2 separate regions of the Homo sapiens genome follow, and region 2 is linked to region 1. Evidence: promoter capture Hi-C in human tissues and cell types (Jung and others, 2019). All regions are on one chromosome and are shown on one strand. The core of a region is centred on a gene start or on the middle of the fragment in contact, and the rest is flanking DNA. Distances in the headings are between cores, read along the strand shown. Region 1 holds the start of ANKRD53 (ankyrin repeat domain 53). Region 2 overlaps TGFA (transforming growth factor alpha).

Region 1 (3,538 bases), core at 983-3,482:
CCATTCTCCTGCCTCAGCCTCCCAAGTAGCTGGGACAACAGGCACCCGCCACTACGCCCGGTTAACTTTTTTGTATTTTTAGTAGAGACGGGGTTTTACCATGTTAGCCAGGATGTTCTTGATCTCCTGACCTCGTGATCCGCTCGCCCCAGCCTCCCAAAGTGCTGGGATTACAGGCGTGAGCCACTGCGGCCAGCCTAATTTTTTTTATTTTTTATTTTTTGAGACAGTCTCGCTCTATTGCCAGGCTGGAGTGCATTGGAGCAATCTCGGCCCACCGCAACCTCCACCTCCCGGGTTCAAGCGATTCTCCTGCCTCAGCCTCCCAAGTAGCTGGGACTATGCCACCATGCCACCCGGCCAGGTGTTCATATTTTTTAAGCTCCCTAGGTAATTCCAATGTACACCTAAGTTTGGGAGCCAGAGTACTGGGGCATAGAGGTTGAGTGACTTGCCTAAGGTCCTGCTGTCTGCTAGCAAGTTGCAGAGCTGGGATGTAGACTAGGTCTGTTAAAGGCCAATCTTTTTTTTTTTTTTTTTTTTGTTGAGACGGAGTCTCGCTCTTGTTGCCCGGGCTGAAGTGCAATGGCACCATCTCAGCTCACCGCAACCTCCATCTCCTGGGTTCAAGCAATTCTCCTGCCTCAGCCTCCCGAATAGCTGGGATTACAGGCATGCGCCACCATGCCCTGCTAATTTTGTATTTTTAGTAGAGATGGGGTTTCTCCATGTTGGTCATGCTGGTGTTGAACTCCTGACCTCAGGTGATCCGCCTGCCTCGGCCTTCCAAAGTGTTGGGATTATAGGCATGAGCCACCATGCCCGGCTAAAGCCCAGTCTCTTTATTACACCATGTGGATTCCTGACTGCTTTATGTGGGACCCAATCCTTGTCACCTCCAGCAACCCCTCTGCTTGTCCTGCATGGATTTGCCTGCCTGGAAGTAGGGCTGTGCCCGTGCCTGTGCCCGAAGCCTCCCTCCTGAAGCAGGCTGGACTCACGCATTGAGGTCTGCGCCTTTCTCCAGCAGGTAGTAGATGCAGGGGAGGGCCACGGTGGTGTTGTCCCTGTGGATGACGAGGTGCAGGGGTGTCTGGCTATTGTTGGTCAGCAGGTCCACGGGAAACTTGTACTCCTCTACCAGGACCTGCAGGCATGCAAGCTTGCCCCATTGGGCGGCGAAGTGGATGGCAGTGAAGCCCTGTGAGGTTCAGAGCAGGCAGGAGGAGGCTGAGTGGGACTGAGGTCCCAGGGTCCACAATTTATATAAATTTATTGGGGTTACCTTCACTTTCTTCCCTGTGTCCCCAGGAATGCTCACACCCTTTTGCTAATTAACCAGTGTGTGTTCATCAGCCCACCCAACCTCCCTGCCCCCAAAATGGTCCTTCCACAGCCAGAAGATGAGTTAAATTAGGAAGATCTACCCAGAAAAGGATATCTCTTCTCCAGGTGACCACTCCGAGCAGCGTAGCGGGAGAGGGACCTCGGTCTTTGCCCCAACACTCAAGACCTTACCTTGTCGTCGGTGGGGATTTCCCTGAGGCTCTGGTTCAGACAGAATCGCAGCCATTCCACGTTGCCCACAGCCGCTGCGAACAGCTGGTAGTAGCTCCCGATCGCCGTCTGGTCGATTGCCGTCTGGTCGGACTCCTTGCTGGGGCTGGGGTCAGCGCGGGGCGGGGTGAGCGAGGCAGGGCGGCGCGGCCTGGCGAGGGCAGTCGCCTGCGCACTGAGGTGGTCTGCGAGGTCGGGCAGGGGCTGGCTGGAGGGCGGGGCAGTGGGGAAGCGACTCTGGGCCACGGCCCGGGCACCTCTCGGGAGGCGATCCCTGGCCCCCGCCTGGCTGGTGGGCGGGGCAGTGGGGAAGCGACTCTGGGCCACGGCCTAGGCACCTCTCGGGAGGCGATCCCTGGCCCCAGCCTGTCTCTGCTGGCTTCTCGGGCCGCAGCCTCCGCCCCCGCCCGCTCCAGGCCCTGCCCACCAGGGAGGCGCTGGGCCGGGTTCTCGCTCCCTGCAGCCGGGACACCTTCTCCCGCTACCCACCTGGGCTGCTTGGACTCCGCGTCAGTCCAGGTGGCCTTCAAGGAGACTTTGTTCGCCTGCTGCATGGAGCCACTTGGAGTTGGCTGCGGCCGAGCACCTCTCCCTTCTCCCCTTTCTGAGTGCCAGCTTCCGGAGCCCGCCCGCCGAGCGGTGCTGCCCGCGGAGGCCATCGCGGGGCTGGAACTCGGACCCGGGCCGGGCGGGCTACTCACACACCCGCCGGCGCCCCGCCCCCGGGGGCCACTCCTTGCCAGCTGGCCGCGGTTTCCCGGCCCCTTCCAGGCCGCTAGGGTTCGGCTGCCTCTCTAGCTGGAGGGGCAGAGCCCGGGGGCCTCCGGGGACCCTGCCCGCCTGCCGCTCCCCACCCGCCGCTCTGCTCCCGGTCTGAGCCAAAACCCCCACTCAACCTCCCAGTCCTGCTGCCCGGGAAACTCAGCATCAAACACACAAACAACAAAGACACTTGGCTTTTGTTTCCGATTATCAAACTAATAAGTAGAAAACAGAAATATTCAATGTGGAAATTAAAAATTACCATCCCACCACGCACAGAAATCATGGTTTATTGCAATATATATGCATATCATGACTATTTTTTGTATCTCTTTTCGTTTATTAATAGCATTATATTACGAGCTAGCGCCCATTGTCACTCCACATACTAAACGTACATTATGACGCAACCAGAGCCCAGCGTCATAATGGATGTGCCATTGTTTCACATGTGCTGCCAAGAACGAAATGGCTCAACTCTGGTTGTTTTCTTAGAATGGATTCCTGGGAGTCGAATCACTAGGTGAAAGGGAATGAATATTTTTCAGCTGTCAATATGGGCTTGCAGACTGCCTTCCAGGAAGGTTATTATTCACTTCCACTTCCACCTGCAGTGAAGCGGGTGCGCTGCACATCAGCAGTGTGGCTTTTGGCAAGTTATCTGACTTAGTTTCTGTGGGCGGCAAGCCACCCAGGTGCCAAGGCAAGAGACCGAGGGCACAAGCTGTTCCAGTATAATAAAATATACAAAACAACAAGAGTTATACTAGATCTAGATCTAGATCATAGACGTGATTATATATGAATATCGTTAATCATTAGTTTGTAGCAATTACTCTTTATTCCAATATTGTAATAATCCTCGCTCTATAATCATAACCTAGGAAAAACCAGGCCATAGAGAGATAGGAACCAAAGGGACATAGTGAGAAGTGACCAGAAGACAAGAGTGCGAGCCTTCTGTTATGTCCGGACAGGGCCACCAGAGGGCTCCTTGATCTAGCGGTAATGCCAGCGTCTGGGAAGACGCCGGTTACCAAGTGGACCGTGGTCTGGCGGACCCTGGTCTGGCGGACCGTGGTCTAGCGGTAGCATCAATGCAAAGGAAAAGCACCCGCTACTTAGCAGACCGGGAAAGGGAGTCTCCCTTTCCCAGGGGGAGTTTAGAGAAGACTTTACTCCACCACCTTTTGTGGAGGGCTTGACATCAGTCAGGCCC
Region 2 (3,445 bases), core at 560-3,059, 430 kb after region 1:
GGTTGAGGCAGGCAGATCACTTGAGCCCAGGAGTTCAAGACCAGCCTGGGCAACATAGTGAGACTCCCACCATGGCTGGATCAAAGATGGCCAGATAGGAACAGCTTTGTCTGCAGCTCCCAGTGAGATACTCCCCACAATCTCTTCAAAAAAAAAAGAAAAAAGAAAAATTAGCGGGGTGTGGTAGTGCATGCCTGTAGTCCCAGCTACTTGGGAGGCTGAGGCTGGTGGATCACTGGAGCCTGGGAGGTCGAGGTTGCAGTGAGTCATGATTGAGCCACTGCACTCCAGCCTGGCCCTGTCTCAAAACAAAAATAATAATAATAAGGTTTTTCATTGGGATGGAGAGAGGGAGCAAGTGTTGAAAAACTGTCTATTGGGCACCATTCTTACTATCTGGGTAACAATGAATTGTACCCCAAATCACAGAATTACACGATATACCCATGTAACAAACCTGCACATGTACCCCTGAATCTAAAAATAAAAGTTGACATTAAAAATAAAAAAAAGTAATGAAGGGTTTTTGCAATACACTAAATTTAAAAGGGCAGGTTCCAGTGTCTTGCTCTGAATTGGTTAATTTTTTATAAGAAGCATATATTAAATCTATAGTGCCTAAAGTCAAAGAAGTAATACAACAGGCATTCTTGTACAGAAATGTTTGGCACATCCTGTAATATTTAGAATAAATTTCTAGAAATTGGCCTTTTCTCTCACTTTCTTGATCTTCCATAACACTGTAAGTTAGATTTAACATTTGCCAAGTTGATTGGAGAAAAATGATCTCAGCCCAGTTTTCATATGTAGTATTTGTTAGAGTCAGTAAATTTGTTGGACATTTGTCATTTTGCTACTTGCATCTTAACCTTTAAAAATTTTTTTCTTATTGATTGATCATCCTTTTCTTGGAGTTTTATAATAACACTTTATATGAGAAGAATAGTAATCCTTTTTCTGTCATACATTGCAAGTATTTTCCCCCATTTATTTTTTATCTTTTACTGTTTTGTTTATGGTATTTTGACATACCTAAGGTTTTTATTTTTATGTAGCAGAAACTATGCATCTTTCCCCATTAGTGTTCTACCTTTACTTATATATTTAGGAAAACCTTTTCTTATTCCAAGATATGCCAATATTTTCTTACTTTTTTTCTTGTAATTCTTTAGTGATCTCATATATTATGTTGAAATATTTTATCTATAATTTTTCTAGGGTATGTTGTGAGATGTAACTCATTTTCATTTTTTGAAACAGTTAACCAGTTAGTAGTCTAAAATGCTATTTATGGAATAATCTACCCTTCCCCCTGTGGTTTGAAATTCCATTTTCATCATATGACAAATTCTGTTTTTTTAAAACAACTAAAACCGGTTCTTTGTAAAATTATAAGATCTGGGGCATACTGTGGCATAGGAACTAAGCGCACAAGACTTGGACTCTCACAGACTCTGGATTCAAATCTCAGTTCTGCCCTACTAGCAGTTTAAAATGAGACACAATATGCTTTCTTCTTCTTCCTCTTCTTCTTCTTCTTCTTTTTCTTCGTCTTCATCTTCGTCTTCTTTGTCTTCTTCATCTCCTTCGTCTCCTTCGTGTCCTTCATCTCCTTGGTCTCCTTCCAACATTTTTACAATTTTTAATTCTTGTGGGTACATAGTAGGTATATATATTTATAGGGTACCTGAGATATTTTTATATATAGGCATGCAATGTGTAATAAACACATCAAGGTAAATGGAGCATCTGTGACCTCAAGCATTTATCCCTTGTGATACAAACAATCCAATTATACTCTTTTAGCTATTTTAAAATATAAAATTAAATTATTATTGACTATAGTCCTCTGTTCTGCTATCAAATACTAGATCTTATTCTTTCTAACTATTTTTTGTACGCTTTAACCACCTCCACTCCCACACCACCCACTACCCTTTCTAGCCTCTGGTAACCATCATTCGACTCTGTCTCCATGAGTTCAATTGTTTTCATTTTCAGCTGCCATGAATAAGTGAGAACATGTGAAGTTTATCTTTCTGTGCCTGGTTTATTTTCATATGCTAAATTCTTAAGTATTGGAATCTGTTTATGGAATATCAGTTTGGTTCCATTATTTGGTATTTTTGCCCTTATTGTGAATGTGTTCACTCATTTATTCTGCAAATAATTACCAAGCACCTGTTCTGTGCTGGGACCACTTCTAGATGCTAGGGATTCAGCCAAGAATGAGGCAGAGTTCCAGTTCTCGTGGACCTGTGTTCTAATGTGGGAGACATTTCCCCCTGCTATCTATTCTAATTGGTTATTGCTGGTATATAAAAGCTTTTTTTTCATATTTATATCTTAACGAGTTTTGTTAATTCTAATAGTCCTTCAGTTGATCCTCTTAGGTTTTCTAGGTAGATGATCATTTAAGCTTGAATAATAATAACTTTGCCTCCTTCCTTTTAATATTTTAATCTCTTATTAAATATCTTATTTTAATCTTTTATTAAATATTAAATTATTAATATTTGAATCTCTTCTTACTTATAGCATAGACCAGGACTTTAAGAGCATGGTTTCTTAAAAGGCAGTAGATATCCTTGTATTTTTCATGGCTTTACGGGTAATGTTTGCGCATTTAACACTTAAGTACGAAGCTGACTTTTTGGTTATATATTATATATACACATATATTCTTTATGATGTTAAAATATGTTTCTCATCATAATTTACTAAAAGAGTTGGCATTTTTTGTTTTGTTAGTTTTTTAAAGCAGGAGGCAATAATGTGTGGGTTTTTTCCCTCAAATGTTTTGAGGACATTGATTGACTCAATTATGTTAAAGCCACCTTTAAATTCTTGAAATAAACTCTTCTTGGCTATGTGGTATTATTCTCTGTATAAACTGCTAGATCTGCTCCATTATGAAGTATTTGGGGCTTTGTTTTCTTTTTTAGATTTTGATATCAATATTATGTCAGCTTTATAAAATAAATTTTAAAGCATCTCATCTTTTTTGTGTTCTGCTAGTTGAAGTATCAGGATAACCAACAATTTTGTGAAGGCTTGAAAGAAATTGCTAAGAAGCTTCTGGCCTGGTCCCTTTTTAGTGGTCAGTTCAAATTTTCTACTTTTTGAGTCAGTTTTGGTAATTACATATTTTCCTCACAATCTATTCAACTCAAATTTCTAAAATTTTAGCATAGATTTATAAATGAACTCCTTTTAATTAAAGAAACATTTTTTGTATCTGTGGCCCCAGTTAATGTAGTCTTTTTTTTTCTTTTTTTTTTTTTTGAGACAGAGTCTCGCTCTGTCGCCCAGGCTAGGGTGAAGTGGCGCAATCTCAGCTCACTGCAACCTCTGCCTCCTGAGTTCAAGCAATTCTCGTGCCTCAGCCTCCCAAGTAGCTGGGATTACAGCTGTGTACCATGCCCAGCTAATTTTTGTATTCTTT

The links. The method cuts DNA at HindIII sites, captures the fragments that hold promoters and counts their contacts. A contact is called where the count stands out against the background at its distance.
Region 2: a contact is called between a fragment that was not itself captured here and the fragment with the promoter of ANKRD53 in region 1, in 1 of the 25 tissues and cell types used here (hippocampus).

The regions. Positions count from the first base shown.
Region 1 is chr2:70,977,324-70,980,861 of GRCh38, reverse strand. ANKRD53 (ankyrin repeat domain 53) reads right to left here and starts at 2,232. Exons shown (of 6, transcript NM_001115116.2): 1 at 2,047-2,232; 2 at 1,519-1,765; 3 at 1,002-1,201. The coding sequence starts at 2,216. The region is part of intron 1 of LOC105374795 (a long non-coding RNA gene); the gene reads left to right. RefSeq lists silencers at 1,796-1,855, 2,216-2,305 and an enhancer at 3,333-3,538. The HindIII fragment of the contact is 11,444 bases long and covers 1-3,538 here.
Region 2 is chr2:70,543,366-70,546,810 of GRCh38, reverse strand. The region is part of intron 1 of TGFA (transforming growth factor alpha); the gene reads left to right. Among named protein-coding and RNA genes, the nearest start is that of TGFA, 8.7 kb to the left of the region's middle. The HindIII fragment of the contact is 3,627 bases long and covers 1-3,445 here.